Regions from separate parts of the Homo sapiens genome. Here regions 2, 3, 4, 5, 6 and 7 are each linked to region 1. Evidence: promoter capture Hi-C in 16 types of primary human blood cells and fetal thymus (Javierre and others, 2016). All regions are on one chromosome and are shown on one strand. The core of a region is centred on a gene start or on the middle of the fragment in contact, and the rest is flanking DNA. Distances in the headings are between cores, read along the strand shown. Region 1 holds the start of KCNJ5 (potassium inwardly rectifying channel subfamily J member 5). Region 2 overlaps LINC02725 (long intergenic non-protein coding RNA 2725). Region 3 overlaps LINC02725 (long intergenic non-protein coding RNA 2725). Region 4 overlaps LINC02725 (long intergenic non-protein coding RNA 2725). Region 5 overlaps LINC02725 (long intergenic non-protein coding RNA 2725). Region 6 has its middle 19 kb from the start of LINC02098. Region 7 overlaps LINC02098 (long intergenic non-protein coding RNA 2098).

The links. Contacts are between HindIII fragments. The CHiCAGO score rates a contact against its expected background, and 5 or more counts as called.
Region 2: a contact is called between a fragment that was not itself captured here and the fragment with the promoter of KCNJ5 in region 1, in 9 of 17 cell types (activated CD4 T cells, non-activated CD4 T cells, naive CD4 T cells and 6 more). The highest score is 9.8, in activated CD4 T cells.
Region 3: a contact is called between a fragment that was not itself captured here and the fragment with the promoter of KCNJ5 in region 1, in 1 of 17 cell types (activated CD4 T cells). The highest score is 5.4, in activated CD4 T cells.
Region 4: a fragment that was not itself captured here is called in contact with the fragment with the promoter of KCNJ5 in region 1 in 10 of 17 cell types (naive B cells, total B cells, total CD4 T cells and 7 more); the score reaches 14.3 in naive B cells.
Region 5: a fragment that was not itself captured here is called in contact with the fragment with the promoter of KCNJ5 in region 1 in 14 of 17 cell types (naive B cells, total B cells, naive CD8 T cells and 11 more); the score reaches 26.2 in naive B cells.
Region 6: a fragment that was not itself captured here is called in contact with the fragment with the promoter of KCNJ5 in region 1 in 3 of 17 cell types (naive B cells, total B cells and total CD4 T cells); the score reaches 11.4 in naive B cells.
Region 7: a fragment that was not itself captured here is called in contact with the fragment with the promoter of KCNJ5 in region 1 in 1 of 17 cell types (neutrophils); the score reaches 6.3 in neutrophils.

The regions. Positions count from the first base shown.
Region 1 is chr11:128,889,669-128,892,966 of GRCh38, forward strand. It overlaps KCNJ5 (potassium inwardly rectifying channel subfamily J member 5), which reads left to right and starts at 1,688. Exons shown (of 3, transcript NM_000890.5): 1 at 1,688-2,053. The HindIII fragment of the contact is 6,484 bases long and covers 1-2,196 here.
Region 2 is chr11:128,101,008-128,104,305 of GRCh38, forward strand. It overlaps LINC02725 (long intergenic non-protein coding RNA 2725), which reads left to right. Exons shown (of 6, transcript NR_183639.1): 2 at 235-377. Among named protein-coding and RNA genes, the nearest start is that of LINC02725, 6.9 kb to the left of the region's middle. The HindIII fragment of the contact is 683 bases long and covers 1,323-2,005 here.
Region 3 is chr11:128,130,943-128,134,240 of GRCh38, forward strand. All of the region lies in intron 2 of LINC02725 (long intergenic non-protein coding RNA 2725), which reads left to right. Among named protein-coding and RNA genes, the nearest start is that of LINC02725, 37 kb to the left of the region's middle. The HindIII fragment of the contact is 5,085 bases long and covers 1-3,298 here.
Region 4 is chr11:128,147,976-128,151,273 of GRCh38, forward strand. All of the region lies in intron 2 of LINC02725 (long intergenic non-protein coding RNA 2725), which reads left to right. Among named protein-coding and RNA genes, the nearest start is that of LINC02725, 54 kb to the left of the region's middle. The HindIII fragment of the contact is 2,286 bases long and covers 657-2,942 here.
Region 5 is chr11:128,166,861-128,170,158 of GRCh38, forward strand. It overlaps LINC02725 (long intergenic non-protein coding RNA 2725), which reads left to right. Exons shown (of 6, transcript NR_183639.1): 3 at 312-395; 4 at 2,353-2,486. Among named protein-coding and RNA genes, the nearest start is that of LINC02098, 40 kb to the right of the region's middle. The HindIII fragment of the contact is 2,885 bases long and covers 205-3,089 here.
Region 6 is chr11:128,188,114-128,191,411 of GRCh38, forward strand. No RefSeq gene overlaps it. Among named protein-coding and RNA genes, the nearest start is that of LINC02098, 19 kb to the right of the region's middle. The HindIII fragment of the contact is 2,899 bases long and covers 218-3,116 here.
Region 7 is chr11:128,229,039-128,232,336 of GRCh38, forward strand. The region is part of intron 3 of LINC02098 (long intergenic non-protein coding RNA 2098); the gene reads left to right. Among named protein-coding and RNA genes, the nearest start is that of LINC02098, 22 kb to the left of the region's middle. The HindIII fragment of the contact is 8,968 bases long and covers 1-3,298 here.

The DNA.
Region 1 (3,298 bases), core at 438-2,937:
CAAAAGGAATATCATGGTCTTTATACCTAATCCAAAAGCAACTGCTGCCCCAGGACAGAGCCCCTCCTCAGGGCTCAGCAGATGATTATAGTGTGTGTTATCTGGACCTGAGAACTGCACAGCCAAAGCCTCTCCCAAGAACTAGGCAATTAGGGAATTAAGAACTTTCTCCACAATAGTGTTAAGCCCTGAGGTCAAACAACATATGGTGCAGTGCGTGAGCACCTAGGCAAGCTGAGTCCCCTAAGGGGACACAGAGCTTTCCTGTTAGGGCCTGTTGCAGCCACATTTAACAATCACCCCCTCTACAGAGAGAAGAGGGGCAATCAGGAGGCCCACTCTGGCCGGACCGCTCTGTGCTCTGTCCCAGGGGAGGGTGCCTGGGCAACGGGCTGTGTGTACGCTGGTCTCCGAGGCAAGAGGACCCCCAGGCCACTGTTAGAGACTAAGTTTCCCTGTCACTGTCCTTACAGGAGAGGATGGACTTGGTGCCCTCCAGTATTAGTGACAAGCATTTTTCTCATTGCAACGTAATAAACCAGTTTTCTGGTCGTAGACATCATTCACCTAGCACTTGTGCTAGGTGCTAGGGCACCCCACGTTTGACCAGCTGTGTCTGCCCTGAGAGAGGGGGCTGGCAGGGGGGGTGTTGACCCCAAAAGGCTGGGTAACGGAGAGGGGCCAGAAGGAACACCACCGGGTGAGAAGGGCCACCCCGAACAGACCGGTCCTCAGAGGCACCTGCCGGCCCTCCCCAGACAGCAGCCCTCCCTTTCAGCCTGCCCTGGCAGCTGCCTTTCCTACGGCTTCCACGAATTAAAGAACACACTCTGGTCATCATCTGTCCTCAAGGCAGGTAGGAATCCAAAAGGGAGAGCCGGGAGGTGGCGCGGAGGACGCCGGCTCTGCCCACGCCTGGGCAAGGTTGAGCTCCGTTCCCTCCGGGCTGCTCCCGCCTCCTGTCCGTGCAGGGCGCGTTTCCAGCCATCGCCGCCCAGCCGCCGCCGCACGCCGGGGAGAGATCGTCCGGGGTGAGCAGCGAGCCCGGGGACAGCTAGCCTGGGTCCTGTCCCTGGACCTACTCCCCCTGCAGCTGGCGGATCAGGCCCCCGGACCCTCACTCCACGGCGGGAATCAGAGCCGTCGGGCGGGGGATGCAGCGCCCAGACTGTGGCTCCCCCGCCTTCCCAAAGGAATCCCCCCATCTGCTCCATCCCTCTCGGGAAACGGCGAAATGCTGCCAACCGTCCGCTTAGCGCACCGCGGAGCGACTGAGCAGCCCCGCCGAGGCTCCGAGCCAAGATTTCTGCCCTAATAGTTTCTCCCTTCTTTCTGTCTGCTCCACCGCACCCACTAAATACGCGGCGCTCACACACGGACACGCGTGACACGCGGCGCTCACACACAGGCATGGGACGCTCACACGCGCGCGCGCGGGTCTCCGTCCCTGGCACCCCGCAGCAGGGGTGCAGCCGGGGGCAGGGGGAGCCGGGGGAGGGCGCAGGGGGCCGCGGGGACGCGAGCGGAGGGCTGGATGCCTGCCGGGCTCTCTCTCCGCCTTCCTCTTCCCTCCCAGTCCTGCCGAGCTGACGGCGTCCCGGATCACATGGAGCCCCCGCCCCACCCCAGCCCGCCCCCCGCCGCCAACGCCGGTGGCCCTTCCAGTCGCGTTACTACCCAGAGATTCATTTGTACCAGGGACGGAGGGAGAGAGGAGAGGGAGGAGGGGACACACACACACACACACACACACACACACACACACACACACACAGAGAGAGAGAGAGAGAGAGAGAGAGAGAGAGAGATTGTTCCAGCTGCTCTCGCTAGAGAAAGGGAGTGACCCAAGGGGCCGCGAGTGAAGGGACAGGATGGCTTAGGTACCTCTGCCCACAGGACCCCACAACAGGGAGAGGTTCCAGCTACAGCTCCTCCGTGGGGTCATGGCAGGGGCTGGGGAGTCCCCTCAAAAGCCCTGAGCCCCCCTGCACCGCCGCTAAGGGACACCCCAGAAGTTAGCATCAGTGGGACTCGGAAGCTCCGATCTCAACAAGTAAGTTGTCTTCTTTTCCTCCTCCATTTCTCCCCCAGCTCGCGGGTTCTGGAGGGCAGGATGACACCCTCAGGTGTCCATCACCTGGGCAGCAGGCTTTCACAGGGAACCTGCTAGACTGGGAGCCAGGGGGGATAAGGAAAAGCTTAGGGCAGGTCCAAGTTTAGGAAATTGGAGATCTCCGTGGCTGCAGGCTGCCCTGTGCGTTGGGAGCCCAGCCATAAACACCTTCACTTCTGGCACTAGACCAGGGCTACCTGGGGGTGCCCCAGATCTCCCAGCAGTGGTTTGAGAGGCAACAGTGGCCAGGAGTGGGTGGGGTGTGGAGGACATTTTTCACCTGGTAGGACTCTTCCTTCAAATGGGAGCAGGGAGGGCCAGGATGGGGGGCGGTGCCCCCCTCAGCCTTAGATCCCCAGCCTAATCTTGCTTTCTCTTTTAAGTGTGGCCAAACTGGAAACACGGCCTTGTGATTTCTGCCCCCCTCGCTGCCCAAGTCACTTCCTGCGTACCTCCCTATCTCCTTTTAAAGAGCTTTCAAATGGTTCAGAAAGGCCAGGGGTCAAGCCTGTGAGGACAGAGGATAGGGAACAGAGAAGGCCGGCCTTGTCATTGCTCCCCTTCTCTTCAAGTCAGTGCTTCTCCCTGCAGAGCTGTTGGCCCCCTGGTTTTATCTGTGCCTTCCCTCAAACAGGGCTCTCCAACCCCAGGGGCTGTGGAGGGCCTCAGGTCCGGCCCCCAAAGTTCTAGGGCCTACCCTGAACATCAGGGTGAGCAACACCAGCCCAAAACCTGTTCCAGGAGCCTTTTCAAACACCAGAAGAAGATCAACAGGAACACGCCAAGTATTTTACTCTGTTTCAATCCTTTTAATAAGCTGAGATTATCATCCTCATTCTACAGGTGAAAAATTGAAGCCCAGAGAGGCTGTGCAATTTGCCTCAGGTGCACAGCTCATAAAGGGAGATTCTCTCCTATATCTGACTCCAAAATGTGCCTCGTTTTCATCAAAAGCCATATGGTTTATCGGGCTTTCTGGTTCTCAAAGCACTTTTCCATGTGAGGAAAAGGCTAATATTTATGAAACCAAGGTGCCGAGCTATATACGTTTACATGAGTTCATCTTGACACCAGTCCTGTGGGGCAGAGCTTATTTCTTCTGTTTTATAGATGAGAGTAAGGGTAACAGAATTCCAGGCACTAAGTGGCAGCAGCACTGCTATCTCCAAAACTCTTGTCCTCTGG
Region 2 (3,298 bases), core at 414-2,913, 790 kb before region 1:
TTTATTCAACAAAACATTATTAAGTGTCTTACGTGACAGGAACATGATAATGTATGGGGATAATAGTGGACAATATGCCCTATCTTCCAATTTTTCCTTATTTCCTAATCATTATTTGGTTTTCAGAAATGTATTTTAGTTGTTGGATCTGTGCTATAGGGCAAAAAGAAAAAAAGTAAAATAGATTTTGTTTTCAAATTTTTTGCAGGAAATAATTTTCAAAATTTTTTGTAGGTTTTGCAGAGTGCCTCCAGAAATAAAAGTGTTACAAAAGAATCACTTCAGAAAACCTACACTTAGAGAGTCCATTTGAAAATTGCCCTATTTGAAATGAAGTGGAGATCAGTAATAACAAGGACTTCCCCATATAACCCAAGGTAAAACTAAATGCAATGCCATTTCCAGCAACACATTATGAGAACGGGATGTCTTTGGCTTTTAGCTTCTTCTCCTGTTACCTCCTTTCCTAATTCTTAATATTTAAGCCAGAGCCAACTCTGCAAAGTTTAGCAGAGCAATCAAAATTATGAATTTTAATAGAATGTAATTTGAAAGATTTTTGCCTTGTGAAATAGGTATTATTTGCTTACCAGCACTATCTGTAGCATCTAAAGTTCTAGAGTTTTCTTGAAGATACTTATAATTTTTCCTATCACAGTCCCATTACAAGGGTAATATAGTTTAGTTTATGCTGGTTTTACTTTTTTAAAAATCAGTGGGCCAAGTGTTTGATTTAGTAACTTGGAAAAAGGTTCATATTTTTTGAGTCTCCTGGAAGCTCAAAGCATATTTTTCAGGGTACAATTTAACCTCTGAGCTATTTGGTTTAAACCATTTATTTATCTGTGGTTAGGATTAGAGTTTGACTTATAGTAGCTTCAGGAAACATGTTCTGGACCTTTACTCTTGACCAATTTACCTTCAAATCCAAACCTGAGGATGACTGATTAGAATAGTCTGTCAACTTTTCAAAGCAACAGTGCTTCATTCTTTTTCAAGAAGTAAGGTAAGGGAGAAAGATATTTCACTGCACATCAAAATAAATAAAAATATAAATCTTTCATTGGGTTGAAAAATATTTGTCCTGGGGAGAGTTTAGACCCAGCTCATCTCACTCCATTGTGCTATTCAAAAATAACAGTCAGAGGTTAATATCGTGGCCAATTTCTATCTGAATAGCACTAAGGTGAAGGAAACTGTTCTCCCCAGAGCAAGAGGGCTTTGGGACTCACATCTTAAAGATTTAAATGACCACTTTAGAGTTATCAGGAGTCCTGTGAGAAGAAATCATTTTAATTCTGCATGTTGCATAATGCTCTTGAAGCTTATATTCTAAAGAAGATGACAGTCCATTAAAAATAGTTTGACTATATATAATTTCAGATGGTGATAGAGATGAATTACAGTACGAAGCAAGGTAATACAGAAAATCATAGCATGAGGAACTAGAGTTAAATAAGTTGGAAGAAAGAATCTGGAGAGAATTCTGAAGGATGAGAATCTAGTCACCGGGCAATTTGGGTTGAGTATACCAGGCAAGGAACAGCAAGTGTAAAGGCTGTGGAATGGGAATAGGTTTGGGACACGCAAGAAGAAGCAAGCAAGCGAATACAGCTAGAACATAATAAACAGAGAGAGTGATTGGACGTATAGGTGAGGGGCAGGTCACATAGTATCTTCTAGGCCCTCAGTCAGGAGTTTGTATTTAAGATACAAAGAAAAGTCATTGGAGAATGTTATGCAGGAAACTTGATATCATATTTATTTATAAAGGATAATTATGTCTGCTGTGTGAAAAAGGGTCTGTGGGAAGTCAAAAGCAGTGTCAGGTAGACCAGATAGGACTGAGTGAGATAGGTGTAGCCTGGTCAGAGACCAGGTGAGAGGCTGCAGCAGGCTGGGCTAGAGATACAGCTGTGCAGGTGCAGAGAAGGTCCTGGATTCAGAATACATTTTGAAGACAGAACTGACAGAACTTGCTGAAGGATTAGATTTAGAGAATGAAAGCTTTTGGCCTGAATCATTGGGTGAATGATGATAATACTTATTCATTTAGAAACAATAGAGAAAGAAGCAAGTTTAGAAAGAAAAAAATAAAAGTTTTGTAAGTTTTGTTTTTGTTACATGAGTTTAATGTACTTGACAGCCAAGTAAAACTGTCAAGTAGGCAAGTAAATTTTCAAGTTTGAATTTATAAGAGTTTAGGGATAAAGCTATATTTCTGGGAGACATCACCACATAGATAATTAATATTTAAAATAAGGTTGCTGGGTGAAAGCAAAAATGTAGCTAAAGAACAGCAGGGTAAGGACTGATCTCAGGGGATGCCAGCATTTAGAAGTCAGAGAGAGAAGGGGATTCAGCAAAGAAGAACTGGAAGAAATAAGCAACCAGGTAAGAGAAAAAACCGGGGAGTGGGTTGTTCTAAAGTCAAATGAAGAAAGTGCTTGGAGGATGGGGTAGTCTCATGTCAAATGCTGTATGAAAATTGAGTAAGATGAAGAGAGAATGGTTGACTGGATTTAGTGAGATGAATGTCTTTCGTGACTTTGACAAAAATGGTTTCAATGCAGTGGTTGGAAAAAATCTTGATTCAGATGGGTTGGAAGGGAAAGCATTTCAAGGTGATGACAATGACTATGGACAAATCATTTGAAGTTTGTTTGGTGTGAAGTGGGAAGAGAAATGAGGTGGAAGTGAGAGGTTGTGAAGCTGTACAGGGATTAAGAGGGGATCTTTTTGTGTTTAAGATGGAAACTATTACCCTGTGTGCTGGTGGAATTATCCAAGGGAACGGAAAAAGTATACTTTTAACTTGGGATGAAATTTTTTCGGGAGGAAAGAGTGGATGGTATCTTGTGCATAAGTGGAGAGAGTGACAGAGAGAAGGGACCAAGTCCTGAAGCACGGCTAAAAAAAAAAAAAAAAAAAGCTGTTAGAGACCACTCCATATGCAAAGAAAACACTCCATAAGAGGGGCACTTTGTCAAAATCCCAGCCGTAGGCTTTGATCCTTGAAGTAAACAGCAAAGATAGAAACTAGAGCAAAATGGGAATAGAGAGGACAGTCTTCATGTGTGTGAGGGATAGGCAAATTGTACTTAGTGAATGTAGCGACTCCCTATTTCTAACGATAGATCATTTCTAGATTCACTGGTGAGGTCAAGCTCCCTTTGAAGCAGACTTAACACAACTGAGCTTTCCCACTGCAGTACTTTGGCGCAAGCTGACAGAGGCAGTACCAACAGAATTGATTATCAATACATAGTGTTTGTATTTACACTAATGAATAATTAGC
Region 3 (3,298 bases), core at 244-2,743, 760 kb before region 1:
TCATTATAGCTGCCCCCTTCCACCTTGACTAAAATAGGAAAACAAAACAAAACAAAATAAGAGCTAAAATTCCAGATGGCTTATGTGTTTGAGGCTTTTATTTGTTTTCATTTTGTTGTTGTTGTTATGGTGAGTGAAGACCAATGGAAGTTGTACAAATCCAGTCTCGGGTCTCTACCTTACTGACTTGTTGAGAACCCCACTCTCACCAGAAAAGCAAGGCTGACAGAGTATATGAGCAGGATGAATTCTGGCTCAAAAATCCACAAAATGTCAGTGTCCGAAGGGCATACAAGATTATCTAGTGTATCCTCCGTACTTTAAAAACTGAAACCAAGTGAGGTGAACAATTTGCCCATGGTTTCTTGAGGCTGAACAAAATTTTGCATCCCTTTGATCTAATGCTTCTTCCTTTAATTTAAAGTGGTGTGAATTTTAAGCAAAATAAAATTCCACATGCTTCTGATAGGGTTGCATTCACTGCGTCCAAAAAATCATTTAGTCTGAGGCTGTCAGTGATCAAGCCACCCTCTGAGCCTCTTTACAGGCATTTAAACCTATTGGAAATGTAAAACGGTATTTTTGCCAAAGCAAAGTAAAATCCCCTTGAACTGGGGCTTTTGTAGTGAGAGACAGAGAGAGAGAGAAAGAAACAGAGAGAACTGAAGTGGAAAAAAGCAGAAGACAGATGATAAGAATTTGTATCTAAATATTATCTTTTATTATCTTTTTATAAATTGAAGCTGTGTTTTCTTGCTCCTGTTGTTGTCTGATAAAGTCTGGCATAAGACACTGTGCCTTCCAGGTTAGTCTGAGGACAGGAGGCTTAGAGGTCCCTTTTCCGGAGCCACCAGATCCAGTACAGATAATTGACCATTGCTTCTCTTAGGGAGAGCTCTGTGACCACTTGATCACGGAACTTGCTTGATGTTGACAAAAATGCCCATGGATCTGTTAGGAACTGGGCTCACACAATCATTTATTTTCCCAAGTTCACTTCTGAATCATAACAAACCCTCAGTGGGCTCCAGAGAGACAGAGTTAAATAGTTTCCTCTATTCATCATTCTGGAGCTTAGAAACAATTAGCCCAACTAAACCGTATTTGTTCTATTAGAAATAGAAATGGTGGGTAGCTCTTCGCAAGAGCACACAGAGTCTGAAGCCAATTGACCCTGAAAATCATGCCAAACACAGAGAAAACCTTTCAGAGGGGCTGATCACCCCTCAAAGGTGGGGCCCAGGAAAGGGCCTGTGAATGTCAGGAGATAAAGTGACGCAGACACCAGAGGGCATTACTGGGACACTGTCACCATGCTACCTCCTACCTTCCCACTGCTCAACTCCCTCATCCAATATTGCTCCAAAGGAACAACTGTTGACCATCCCCAGGCTCTTAGCAATGTTTTGGCTTGAGAGACTCATTTGCCAAGTGGTTCGCGGCCTTATGGCAAAGTAATTGGGTTTCTCCCTTTTGATCCACACAGTCCAATAAAGACTATAAATACTTGCTTTTCCCCTTGAAAGCCCCCCCTTCCTGATTTCACCTGGGCACACATTTAAGTTTGGAAAGAGGAGGATGAAGTAGTGATGTGATGTGGGCCTGTAGTCTTGTCAAGGCGAGTGCTCCTTGGAGATGGCTCTGTCGGAAAGAGAATGTGATGGTTCTCGGGGGTAGATGGAAGAACAGGAGGTGTAGTCCTGTGAGAGGGCCCAGGTGACTGTACAGCTACTGCTCTATTTCCAAGGGGGAGAAATCATCACTGGAGAGGCCAGTTCTTGTGCAACTTCAGCCTCCATTTTCAAATGAGGGCACAGGGGATGCCCTCATTTGAAGGCGTTAGGATTAGGGGCAGCTGGAGGAGGTGCTCCAGCCCTCATTTCTTCATTTCCAGACCATTTGTCATTTAATACTTATTCAAGCAGGTTTCTCATTCTGGGCCCTAGGGGCATTTTGAACCAGATAATTCTATTTCATGGGAAGCTGTCCTGTACATTATAGGATGATGTTTAGGGGCATGCCTGGTCTCTACTCAATAGATGTCAGTATCAAATCTCACTTTTTAATGATGTGACAACCAAAAACCAAAAATGTCTCAAGAGATAGCCACATGTCCCCTCGAGAGTAAAATTGCCTGAGAAGAATCAGTGGCCTAAAGGATCCAAATGCATTTTACAGGGCTCACCAATGACCTGCAGTTTGGACCAAAAGCTGCACTCAGAAGATTTAGACCCAAGCCAGTTCTGACCACCACCTGTCATTCCCACTGGAAAGGCACCCCAGAACCCAGGCACAGTTGTGCCAGAGCCCCACTCTAGGCTCCCTTATTCTTTCCCCGTTCCCACACAGATATGGGCTCTTCTGCCTGCCCTTGGAGTCCTCAGCCTAGTTTTAGAAGATCCAGAAAAGGAAACAAATAAAAATAAACAAAGGGGTAGACATGAGCAAGGGAGAAAGCAAAATATTTAAAAGTAAACAGTCTGGGGGTAGTGAAAAAAATGTCTCTCTCTCTTCTCTCTCTCTCTCTCCCTCTCTCTGTCTTTAATAGAGCTCCTGGGCTTTCTCAAGTCAGCCGCTGCCTGAGTCTGGTTTTCATTTGCAGGCCCCCTCAACTTCACTTCTTCTCATAGATAATTTGACTTGATTACTTTCTGAAAGGGCAGACAGAGCTGGAGCAGCTTTGCACTCATTTACTTGTCACTCCTAGCACTGGCTTAATTTGGCTTGAGCTGCACCTCCCCCTCCCAGGAATGATTGTGAGGCTGGGATCCAACTTCCAGTGGAAGGGCTGGGAGGACATGGGCAGTCTGGCCCACTCTGTCCAAATTAGGCAGGCAGGCCCTTGCACGTAGAAAGGCTGACACCCTTTGACAGAAAAGGAATGGTAGCTTAACAAAAGGCTGAAGCGGTCAATTCCCCACCAGAATGAATTTTGACTTTGTCCCTTGATATCAACATCAGCTAGGAATATAAAATAAAACTTGGGGATAGTTAAAAATCAAATTGTTGGCATGGTAAGGACAAGAACGCCTGGGTTGCACTTTTTTTTTCCTATTTCTCATGACACCTGGCACAGCACTGGGCACATAGAGGAGTTCGATAATTTTTTTTTTAATTTATTGTCATATTGTATAGAACCCATTCTAATGAGACTGTGTTATGAGTGGTGTTACATTTTCCCAAAATATTGTTGTATAAACTCAGATTATTAATCTTTTTCATACTGTGGTAAAGTGTTACAGGACCAGATATTTTAAAATAAATGGTCTGTGGCCATGTCTCTGTAATTGTTTTAATT
Region 4 (3,298 bases), core at 550-3,049, 740 kb before region 1:
GGGATTACAGGCGTGAGCCACCCTGCCTTGCCCAAATGTGTTCTCTTGTTCTCATGACAGTCGTATAAGGCATATAGAAATATCCCCATTTTACAAATTAAAAACTGGGTAGCATCTCTGGGTTGCTTAGCTTGTGAGTGGAAGAGTCAGCATCCAATCAGGTCTGTAGGATCCCAGAGCATGCCCCATCTACCACTAAATTAAGCTGTTGGAGAGCATAGGTTTTGAAACGTGGCAGATCTGAGTGTGAATATAGATCCACCATCTACAAGATCTGGTAATAATCTCAGGCAAGCCGCTTGACTTGGTGAGCCTCTTATTCTCATCGTGGACATGCTCATGCTTACTTTCCATGGGAAGTCAGTGGTTTAGAATTAATGACCGCTCATGAGGGCACCTGGCATGCAATAGACGTTAGACACGCCACGTTTCTTTTCTCTGTTTGCCCATTGCCAGGTCTCCTGCTGATCCCCTTTTAGCCAAATGGACAATATTGTTTAACTAACTTTAATCTCCATCCAGGAAGCCCACCTGTGTTGTCTCTCAGTTCTACTCTGGGTCTTTGGGTGGGAAGCAGACAAACCTCAGAAGGCTCATTTCTGGACTGGCTTGCCTTGCCTCACACAGGGGATCCTTCCAGGGGCATATTTTGGGAAAGCTTGTAACTCTTCTCCCCTCCTTCCTTCCCATCAACATGCCAACACACCCTTTAAAAGGCCCTCAGATCCCCCTTCCACCAGACAGCATAACAGTCAAGCTAATTAATGGTCTGCCTGCTTCTTCATAGTCTATGTGCTCGCTCCCAGTGGTTTAAAAGAATGAGGGAGTAGGGAGCAGAGGGGGAAGGCTTAGGGCTTCTGAGACTTGACCCCAAAGGTGTCTGAACTTCAAGAGTCAAAGCAAATCCAGGGGAAAATGGCAGTTTCTATTGTAAGATCAGTCCCCAATCAATATGGTACAATTTCATAGCTCATTATTCCTGTGTGTGCCAAAGCGCAAGTGGGGAAGGGGTGGGGACAGTGAGGGAGGCTGGGAGGAGGGACAAGGGGAGAATCATATGGAAACAATTAGTGGAGCCTTCATTCAAAAAAGCATTAAGGTACTTGTAGCACTGAGGCTCAAGTGACCCCTAGGCTGGGACCATAATTCACCAACACTTAATACCGTTTACCCTGCAGATGTGCATTTTATACAGAAATATCAGCTTACCACTTTGAAAAATTAACCTATTGAAGGCTGTCAAATTCTGATGCCCTCATGGGGGTATTATATATTGTCTGCATGGCTCTCTGTTTCGCCTTTTACCCCCAGAATCAGGAATGCCTGGGTTAATTGGCAAATTAGGTGGCTAACAAGGGGGTGGGAGGTTGTAGAGGAATGAGGACCCAAACAGAAATGCTGCTTTTCCTAAGCAGAAAATATTCTTTTCTTCAATTCCAAAACATGAAGGGTTTGGGGAAGTGACACCCCACCGCTGCAAAGACACACACACACATACACACACACACACACACACACACACACACAGACACTCTACAAGTTCTAAGTCAGAAAGTCCAGAGTTAATCAAGGAGGTAAGATAGAAGTTAGCATAAAGGGAAAGTGTGGCTCAGTGGTTACCGTGTCTAAATTATATTTAACAAAGATTCGTCATTACAATGGGGTTGATAAACCTATGACTAATAGAGAAAGCCTATGTGGTTAAATTTGTTTTTTAATTATCTCAAAGAATGTGATGCTGATTTAAAAAATTCTAATGAAGCACCATTTTTACCTACACAATTGATATTTAAAAGTGTGAATATCCAGTGTTTTCAAGGTTGGCAACAATAGGCACCCTCTAACAACACAGGTGGGAAACTGCTTTAACAACAACAACAAACTTTCTACAGAGCAATTTAATAACAGGTATCAAAAAACCTTAAAAATATGCATACATAACACCCACAAATTCAACTTAGAGGAATTTTACATAAAAAGTACGAATGTAGAATTTGATATTTGTGTAAATAATCTTTGTCATAACTTTGTTTTATAAAAAGGACAAATGGATAAAAACTAAACTCCTATAATAGGAAATTGGTTAAATATAACACATGCATATAATATAATAAAATACACTCACTAAAAATCATACCTTAGAAAAATATTTGCCAACATGAAAAAATTTTTAGGTTGAAATAGAAACAGAATTTTCAAAAGAACAAGCCACAAACCAGCATTTGCACATGTTTCTAGATTTTACAATCCCATCCACGTGTATATACATACATTACTGCTACATCATGTTAGCAACATCTTTAGCTAGTGAGAATATGTTTACAAATTTCGTTGTATTCGATTTTTCATTGCACAGGTACTATTGCAGTGGAGGAAGGTGGCCTGAAGCCAAAGTATGAAGTCAGAAGCATGGTCTTCTGAGCAGTGCCCTCCTTTTCATTCCTGGCCTTGCTTCCTGAACCTGGTTAACAGTTTTTCTAACAAAAATAGCTCTAGCTTCAGTACCCGCCATGCCATAGCTCCCTGCTCAATTCCCCGCTATCTTGTGCTTTGAACAGGATTCACTAACACTCAATGGTATAGCAGGTCGGATGTGAGTAGGAAGCCCAGCTTTATGACCTTTGGCTAACTATTTCATCTCACTGAAACTTAGTGCCCCCTTCTAGAAAATAGAAACCTAATGTCTGTCTTATAAGGTTGCTGTGAGAATTGAATAAGAACATGTGTATAATGAGCTTGGTCATATACCAGATAAACTAATATTAACTCGCTGTAACTCATGATTAAATATCAGGTTAACATCTACTGAGTTCATCTTACCACGTATCATCCCACTAACTCCAGAGGGTGAGAATTTATTCCCTGCTTAATGCAAAGTTTCCCCATGACCAGAGATTCTGGTTCTCTGAGGGTGATTGGGGCTACTGAAAACCATAAGAACAAGCTTGTGACTGGTGGTATTTTACCCTGCTATTCTCTTCTCTCATCCAGAAGTGTCTTTAGAGCACAGGGAGGGGAGGTGGGAACATACAGCTGGGTTCTGAACTCACTCCTACCAGCATCCATCAGGGAGCTCAGGCTGACCTTTGCAATGTCTTTAAGACACAGGGATTAAGGCATAGGTGACCCATGAAGCTTAGGTAACTAGTCAAGGAAAGGGGAGAGGATGAAAGAAGCATAGGAAGGAATATTTTTGGGGTGGTGAGTTTGTAGTGTCCTTCGAGTTAAATTGCACATTCCACAGAAGCAGATACCTAGTCACTTAATGATCAAATCATTTAGGATGCATCCTCCTGAG
Region 5 (3,298 bases), core at 397-2,896, 720 kb before region 1:
AGCAGCCGCTGCTTTGATACCAGCTTGCAGCTCTGCTGGCACCTAGCCTGTCGACTTTGAATGCGACCATAGTTTATATTTTTATCTGCATTTCCCTGATGTGATGAATGTCTCCCATGTACTCCTGCAGGGTCCCTCTTTACTTGCTCCGCCCTTTGTGTGCTCTGGGAGGCTAATCCAGATGTGCCGCATCAGGAGGCCTCAAGCTTCTGGTGGAGCTCGGCTTGTGGGACAGTCAGCCTCTGGGAGACGGAGCAAGTGGAGGAAGAGAGAAGTTGAGACAATTATTTCCCTAATTCCCTTTCTGGCAGGTCCTACTGGGTTAGTGTGATCTTCTGCGGAAGGCTGCAGCTGCTGTCAGGAGGCCCTCTGTCTACACTCCTCTCTGGAGAAGTGTAAGTGTTTTGTCAGGTAAATACTTCGTCACTCTCCAGCGTAGCAGTGAGAATCATCCCTCCTATCTCTAGCATCAGAGTCCCTCCTATTGTTTCTAACCACCCACCCCCCGTATCCTTGTAAATAATCTCTTTATTAAATTGTCTGCAAATTACTTCATTTTAATGTGCTGTCCATTTCCTTTTGGGACCCTGGCTGATATTGATACTGATGTTGGGTAATTACTGATTATTGATACTGATAGTTGACACTGATACCGATAATAATTATTATTAATAGCTAATATCCATAATTTGATACTGATTATCAGAAAAGGATACTGACACTCTAGGATATTAGCAGGATCAGTAAATACTGACACTGATACTGATATTAATACTGGCTGCTACTGCTAGGTAATTACTAGGTCTGTCTATCAATCTATCCATCTATCTAGGATGTTCTCACTCTTGTAAATATCTCTATAAAGCCTTGTCAAACAGAAAAAGGAGACAATGTGAAAGGGTCTTGTGTACATTTAGTCTCTATTCATCTATTACAAGTTTCCTTTCTAAACCAAATAGTTCTATATTGTTTTGGAGACTATCTAACCCTCATTAATTAGCTGTTTTATTTCTATTTCTTTATTGCTCATATATAACAATAGGAAAACTTGGTTAGTCAGTTAATTAACAAATATTTAGTAATGTATATTATTATATGACTTGAGACATGATAAACATGTTCTAAAAGTGTGGAACACAACATTTGATAAGAAAGGCAGAATCTCCATCTTCAAAGAGATTGCATTATAGTGGAAAGAGCCAGACAATATATAAATATATAAACCAAGAAATAAGATCATTAAGGTACTGATAAGTGTTATGAAGAAGATGAAACGGGGTGATTTTGACAGACATTGACTGTAACAGGACCAGTTGTTTTAGAGAGCATCAGAGCAGCTCTTCATGAGGAGGAGCATCAGAGAAGCTCTTCATGAGGAGGAGCCTCATGAAGGTGAAACCTAAATGATGAGAAGCCAGCTATGTAAGAGGAGCATTTGACACAGAAGGAACCATAAGTACAAATGTAATGAGATGAGAAATTTCTTTGGTATGTTGAAGACATCAGGACAGGTGAGTAGCATGCACCTGTGTCCCAGCTACACCAGAGGCTGAGGCAGGAGGATTGTGTGAGCCCAGGAGCTTGAGGATGCAGTGAGTTATGACCATAGCACTGCACTCCATCCTTTTGTGATGTCTTTTTTTTTTTAAGAAACGTCACTGTGTTCCGGGTGACAGAGCAAGATGACATTTCTGAAAAAAAAATGGGGGGACATCACAAAAGACCATGGATAAAACTAAGTAAACCAGAGAAACAAGAAGGAAGAGAGAGAGATGAATTGGGTGCATTGGCAAAGCCAGATAATGTTAGAATGACCAGGCCATGGGAAGAGTCAGGTTCAAAACATACTTAGAAGCCACTGGAGACTTTTAAATGGGCATAGGAGGATCTGATTTGTAGTTTAGAATGATTTCTCTGGCTGCTGCGTGTAGAACAGATCCTATGTAAGGGAGCAAATGTGGAGGCAGAAAAGCTACTGCAGAGGTGATAACATTAGCTAAAAGATCACAGTATCTGGGGAAAGGGTGGTTGCGGTAGAGAGAGTAAAAAGTAGTTGGTTTCAGAATACATTTTAATGGAAATGGAATAGCAGACTGATGATTGGATAATGGGAATTGAGGGAAATCAAGGAATCCAGAATGACTTGTAAATTTTTGTTCTAAGAAATTGAGTGGATAATGATGGCATTTACTTAAATAGCAAATACTTGTGGAGGTAAATTCTGGATATGTGGGGCAACCAAGGGTTTTGTTGATGCCATGTAAACTTTGGCATGCCAATTAGATACGAAGAGATACTGAGTGGAAAGCTGGATACTCAGGGGACCACAGTCTTCTGTTTCCTGGATTTCAGGTCCCTTTTAAACTGAAGCATAGTGAGAACAAGTGTAAAGCACAACACAGACGGAAGATTGCACCTTAGCTCACTGCCCCGTGCACCCCGGTTACACCGTCTAAGAAAACACTCTGGATTCAATCCTTGGAAAAGTAGGTAGGAATTTGCTTTTCATGGAATTCAATCTGAATGGTTTATAAAAGAATCAAGTCAGTTATTCATGTGGCAGCATTATGTGCCCCTAAATTCTCTGATTTCCATTAACTAATCTCAAGTAAATAACAATAGGCAATGTGTCCAATATTTTGATCTCTCCAAACTAGTAAGAGGCTCAAGATCAGAATCAATTCTTTGCAGAAATTCCAATCTCTTCATCACTAACATGGTATTTACTCTCAGTATGTGCTGAGCTACCACTTCTGGAAGAGTCTTTCCTGGTTAATTACTTGAAACCTGTTGCATTGGGAATTTCTCAGAAAGTCTGCCTTGATGAGCTTTACTCAAGAGCCGCAACTTCACGGATCGGACAACAGAAAAGACTTCGGCAGTTACCAAATCTGAAGTACTCATTGTGCATGCTAGCAATCTGGGACTAATAAGGTTAAATTGTCTGAGACCTCAAGGTGGAAGTGACAGGTGGGTCTAGAACTCAAGTTTACCAATGACAGTCCAGTGTTATTGTCATTATCCTTTAGAATTGTTCATTTATTCATTCATCACACACTTATGAAAGTCCTATTATGTATTATATACTAAGCTTGAAGACCAAAACAAATCAGTAAGATCCCTATCTTAAAGACTCTTAGATCTAGTACATGACTTAGTATAGGTGAAGAATTTTAATATAAGACTCAGTAGATGCTATAATAAAATAATGAGCAAAACTATATAAAATCCCAGAGAAAGTTGAAACTTATTCTGTCTTGGATCTTTGGAAAATCCTAAAGAAATTTGCGAACTTTTA
Region 6 (3,298 bases), core at 417-2,916, 700 kb before region 1:
TAGACTGATGCTCTGGGAGACTGCAGGCATTGATTCATCTGAGAGTGAATGAGCATTTTTTCACATCTGCTATTGCCAGGCACCATGTTAGGCACTAGAGACACAACCCAAAGAATAAATTCAGGGGCTGAGGCAGACAAGCAAAAATGATCATGTAAAAATGCTGTTACACAGTAAAGGGGCGGGTCACTGAGTTCACAGGATGGGCCTCTACCTAAGCTTTGAGCCAGGGAAAAACAAACAAACACGTATTCTAGAGAAGGAACCCTGTAACCTCTGAGGTGTCAAGGGCATGGAGACAAGTCAGGCAGGATGGCAGGAAGAGGACAAGGAGGCAGCTCTTCCCGACAGAGGGAGAATTGGCTGTGTCTCTAGGAATGTGGATGAAAGAAATCTAACTTGGAATGCCTGGCTTCAAAACTCAGCTGCCCTGTTGACTGTGCTCTGTGATGTGAGGCTTTCAGAAATACCTGAATTCCACCAGCCAGGATGTCCTGAAGTGTTCTAAAACCTCACCCTTCCCTCAGAAGTGTGGACTGCAGCTTCATTCAGCATTCATAAGGCTGGTTCAACGTCCAGCTCTGGAGAAAGCAAGTGCTTCTTATGTAACGTGAGGCACGTCTCCAGCAGCAGCCACCTCACATCCCAGCCCCGCACATCATGTCACACATTCCTGACTCCTCACACTACCCTAAAAAATGTGTGTTATCGAAGATTGATGTTCCCTGCCTTTGAACTCAGCCTAGGCTTTTATATGCTATTAAGGACAAGGGTAAAACCCGAGTCCCACTGTGAAAGTCATTCCAGTTGTCTCCATGGTCCATTTTCCCAGCAGGGTCACTTTGGCACACAGAGAAAGCGAAGGCCTGGGAACAGACTTGCAAGGAATTATGGAAAACATATTTGGCTGAGACACTTTGCTTGACTTCTACAATTTCCATTGTCCCTGCCCATGTTTCCAAATGACAAATGTATCTCCAATTGAGACACTGCAAAGTGCCTCGTATATAGTAGTTATTAATTATATGTGATATAAAATTATATATACATATACGCATGTAATTATGCATGTTTTTATATGTAATTATGTATACATATATAGTATGCATATGTGTATATATACACATATAGTATGCATATATGTACATATACATATATACATATATACATGTATGCATATGTGTATATATACATATAAATACATATATACAAATGTATATGTATATATACAATGTACACATGCATATGTATATATAAATATACATATACATGTATATGTATATTTGTGCATATACAAATATACATATACATGTATACGCATATAAAACATGCATATATATTAACATATTCATATGTTAATATAAAATATGGATATGTGTATATATACACATTATATAGATATATATAAAATAGAGGCAGAACTGACTTTTCTCTGCTTTAAACTTTACTGTAGCTACCAGAATGCTTTTGCATATAGTAGGATCTTATTAAGCATCTGTTGGTTGATTGACTAGCTAATTGTCTAGCTGGTGGGCAAGAAGAAGTAACTTGTCTTCGTATCACAAGGCCAAAAGTCTATAACAAAATGTTAAAGTAAATTCACCAAAACTTCTATTCCAAACAACAAGAAAAATATCTGGAACATATACAAAATTAAAGAGACAAGAAAGAAAGAAACCAGTAAGTACCTTTTTAGTCTAGAAATCTTTTTATTTAAAAAAAAGTTATTTTCTTATTTATTTATATGGCTCCAAACCTAGAGATCAGAAGGTGTTGTATGACTGGCTGGGGATATCAATGAAACAGATTATGATGTATGCATGAAGTGTGCATGCAGGCCAAAGTAGAACTTGATCCTGTGCCTCTCTGACAAAATAGGTGCTACTCACAGCTTTTACTTCCCTTTTGAAAAGGGCACTTCTCAATGAGGGGAGAAAGGGCACTTCTCAATGAGGGGAGTAGGCCAAGGGGGGTCAAGTTTCAGGACAATGTTTCAGCTCTACATGGGGCCTAGAGCAAAAGATCATAACGCACGTTTAGGTCTACACAAGATGTTTCTCAAGAAATGTTTTTGTTTAAAGTTTGTTTCCTACAATTCTCTCACGCACGTGCATGCACGTGCGTGTGCACGCGTGCACACACACACACACACACACACACACACACACAGCTTGTAGACTCTTCGTTATGGGGAATGTCAGGAAACCACACCCTGAAAGATTTTCTCTGTCTTACAATATTAAGGGATCATGACCATATTAAAGTCCCTTCCAGTACAGGGTTTGTCCATGTGAGCTTCTGAGAACAGGCGAGCTGTGGTTTTCTCACTAGCACAGAAGAGGTGAGAACACAGCCTTGGAACCCCTCCTTCTCACCACCGACCCTCATCAAAGGGCGTATGCAGTGCTCACAACCAGTCCTGGATGAGAGGGCTTCAGGCACTCAGGAGAACCAGTATCTAGACCACAGAGCAGCAGGGAGAGTGTGGCCACCTAAAGATGTGAAGGCACCGTAAAGACCCACTTGAATCTTTGCTCACCTCAACGCCATCCAACAATTGAAGCCTGGGCAAAGTGAAACACCCATCTCCTGATTCAGTCTCTTGGCTCTTGGTGAGCCAATGCTCACCTCTTGGCTTGAAGTCAGAGTGAGGGGTGTCAATAGGACTCCCTTATGTCCCACTTTCCCCACATTTCAGTTCCTGGCCCTGGACCCCACTCTCCACTTGACTCCATCCCAGATAGCTGATGCTGGTTCTCCCACATCTCCCCTATCAGGCAGCCAATGCTGTTGCCTAATTTAGCACAGAGTAAATTTATTTTGCCTTTATACTTTTACAATATGTTTAAAAAATGTGGACTCTGTTTCTCAGTTCAAATGTGATAATTGATTATGTCACGTTGAAAGATCAGTTATCTGTGATCTCCTGAAATAGACATATTAATGTTTGAAATTTCTGAAATGATAACACATTTCAAATAGCTTTTTAAAAAGATTACCATTCAGTTGCATGTCCCTGAACTCCTGTGGCAGACAATTCTACCATTTTTCATTTTCTTCCTTTTGCTATGAGGTGGCACTACGTGACCTAGATTTGACCAATGGAATAAGGGTGAAGCTTATATATCAGAATTTCTGGCCTGGCCCCCGGAATCCCATGATCTGCTCTCTGCTTGTTCATGATTTAGCAGATTGAAGAGAATCTGGAGAACTGCAACTCCCTGGAGTCCATCGAGTCAGCAGATGGGGGACTTCTGAGTCCCCACTTCAACAAATGTGATACAATGGACGAAGTATC
Region 7 (3,298 bases), core at 249-2,748, 660 kb before region 1:
TGAGGACACACTGCTCTGGTCTGTTCCAGACCACTGTACCAGAATTGGAAATGCGATGCTGTCGCTCTACTCATCCTTTCATTCACTGTGATGGATTAGTCAGAGTAGTTTCTACTTCTTGAAAGACAGTTTTTTGGCAGTGGTCAAAAAAGGGAAAAACACACCGAACCCAATTTCCGGTCAGTGCATATCCTCTGAATATGTAATGTTGCAAAATCATATTTCAAGTGAAAAGAAAAACCACACTAGTTTTACAAAATGAAAGAAACCTCATCGTCAGCCAGAAAATAACTAAAATACATAAGCAATAAATTTGACTCTTAGGGACCATGGTGTTCAAAACAACCCACACACCGTATAGGACAAAAACAAAGTTCATTGGCACAGGACGCAGTGGTAAAGAGAGGAGTCTGAGCCCACAGTTTACACAAAGCTGTGTCACTCAAGTGCTGGTCTGCTGGCCCATGGCCTGGCTCCTGCCATCCCAGTCACAGGGCAGAATGGGCAATGATGGAAAGAATGGTTCTGCCCTGCTGAGGATAGGAAAGGGGCCCCAGGGGAAAGCAGGGAAGTAAAAGTACAGACAGGCAGAGGAAAAACATCTCCTTACACAAGAAGAGCTTGCAAATGGAAATTACAAAGTACACGAAGAAAAAGACTCAGAAGAGATTGCCTACAAAATAAAACATTTCAGACAAAAATTCACTCCTGACAGTATTGAAAATACTGACATTAAAATCTTCAAGATCCTTAAAAACTGGAGGTGAAAATTCATGAAATAAAAATGGTGTTATGGAACAAGAGACGTAGATACTGAACACAGCTGGATGATAAAACCAACCAATCCCAAATCATAAAGTGAAAAATACAGTCATTAAAATAAAAACTTGATAGAGGGAACAAAGTCTAAATTGGACATGGATGAAGATATAATTAGCACAGTAAAAGAATGAAGTATTTAGTAAGTGGCACTGGGAGAGCTGTCTATCCTATACATAATATGTATTTTGCATATATTATATGTAATATATAGTATGCATAAATGATTTTTTATTTCATATTATTAATAAAATAAAATATAAATGTTAAAAAATCTTTAAATCTATTAGGAGAAAATATAGGTGCACATATTTAAGATTTCAGAGTAGGGAAAGATTTATCAAAGCAGACACAAAAAGACAAAATCGTAAAGAAAAACTGATAAACCCGACCAATTTAGACTTAAAATTTATGCATAAATAATGGTATATAAAACAAAATTAAAGGCCACTGACTGGAAACATGTTCAGCACATATAAGTCTACACTCAGAATACGAAAATAAATATATTCAACACAAAAATATCAAAGAATGTAATAGAAAAATGGGCAAAGTATCTTCATGTGTCATTCATGGAAAATGACAAACTGAAATGGAAAACTGCATATGTTAAATGCAAGTGAAAACATGCTCACCTATAAAAATGATCAGGAACATTTTTAAGAAGTAAGACACACTTTAAAATCCACCAGACAGGCAAAAATATCAATGTTTAGCCAAGAATGAGAGCAAATCGGAACTCTCATTTAATACTGGCAAGAGTATGCGAATAGAATCATCACAAAGAGCAGTGGCATCACCCCAAAACGTTTATACTCTGTAGCCCAGCCATCCAAGGTGAGAGTGCTTCCCTGTGTGTGTGTTTGGCCTAGAGAAAATCTATGAACTCTTACAGAGTAAAGATAACTATATACAAGGATGTCCCATACAACAATGTTGTAGCAAAAAGGGGAGATAATGCAAACGTCAAGTGGTAGTGAATAAAGTTACATAGTTAGATACATGGATAAATTGTGATATGTTCACATAATAAAATATACTGCGGTTAAAAAGAATAACCTACGTATGTATTGTCATGAATCTGCTTTGAAAATATAATATTGAATGAAAAAGCAAGTTAGAAAACTTTACATGTACTGTATTTAAATAATGCAAATGAATGATATAGCTTTGCAAATATGTATAAACTATATATATTTTTGTATATGTGCATATGTTATAGTTAAAGGGTACATATATAGAACTGGATGCACATCAAATACTTCTTAATCGCTAGCTCTGGAAGGGAAGGGAATGCAAATTAGGAAGGACATCACACGGGTCTCAATTTTACCTATTACGTCTTTGCCTTCAAAAAAGTGTAAAGAAAACTGGAAAAATATTAACAGTTGTTCCATTTTGGTAATGGATAAGTGAGTATTTATTAACTTTTTTTCTTTTATTAAGGGAAAATACCTAAATTCAGGAGCTTAGTGAGGGCTACAGGGTTTCCAAACCTAGAGAATTTAAAAAGGATCTTAAAGAAATAGCATAGAGATGGGTGTGGTGGCTCATGCTTGTAATCCCAGCCATTTGGGAGGCCAAGGCAGCTGGATCACCTGAGGTCAGGAGTTCGAGACCAGCCTGGCCAACATGGTGAAACCCCATCTCTACTAGAAATACAAAAATTAGCTGGGTGTGGTGGCGGGTGCCTGTAATCCCAGCTACTTGGGAGGCCAAACCCAGGGGGCGGAGGTTGCAGTGACCTGAGATCGTGCCACTGCACTCCAGGCCTGGGCGACAATAGCAAGAATCTGTCTCAAAAAACAACAACAACAAACAAGAAGTAGCATATTTATCAGCAGAACAGCTACCATGGTAAGGGCACCCAAGCACATCATATTTGGAAGAAGTGAGAGAACAAGGAGAAGGAAGAAAGGAGGCCATCAACACAAATTCTCTCAGATACTAGAACAGCTGTCACTGACTTGCATTCTTTAGCTCCAAGGTCTCTAATGAAAATCCATATATGGACGTTAGAAGATTAGCCTCAAATTAAGAAAGAATTCTCTAGCAATTACAATTTTGAAAAATTACTTGGCAATCTCAGGAGGTAGTAAGATGCTATCACTGAAGTTAGTCAAATCTAGTGTGAGTACAACCTGGTATGAATACAGCTTTTGGAGTTGAGTAATGCTTGCCATAGTTTGAAGTTTGGCTATGGGGAGAATGGCAAGTATGATAACACCGTTGACTCCAATAACAAGGCATTTTGCAGAGCATTTCAAAAACTCCCTTACTTAATTCTTAAAATCACACTAGAGGTTGGTAGTACTTCATTATTCTCATTTTACAAATGAAGGTGAATATCACATGCGTGGTAGAGATTTGAATTTAGATTGTTCTGACTCTAAGGCCTAAACATGTCATTAAGTTCCTTACGACCACTAGAATGTCAAGATTTATGAAATCAAAGAACTAGATTTCTAGTTGTGAAATT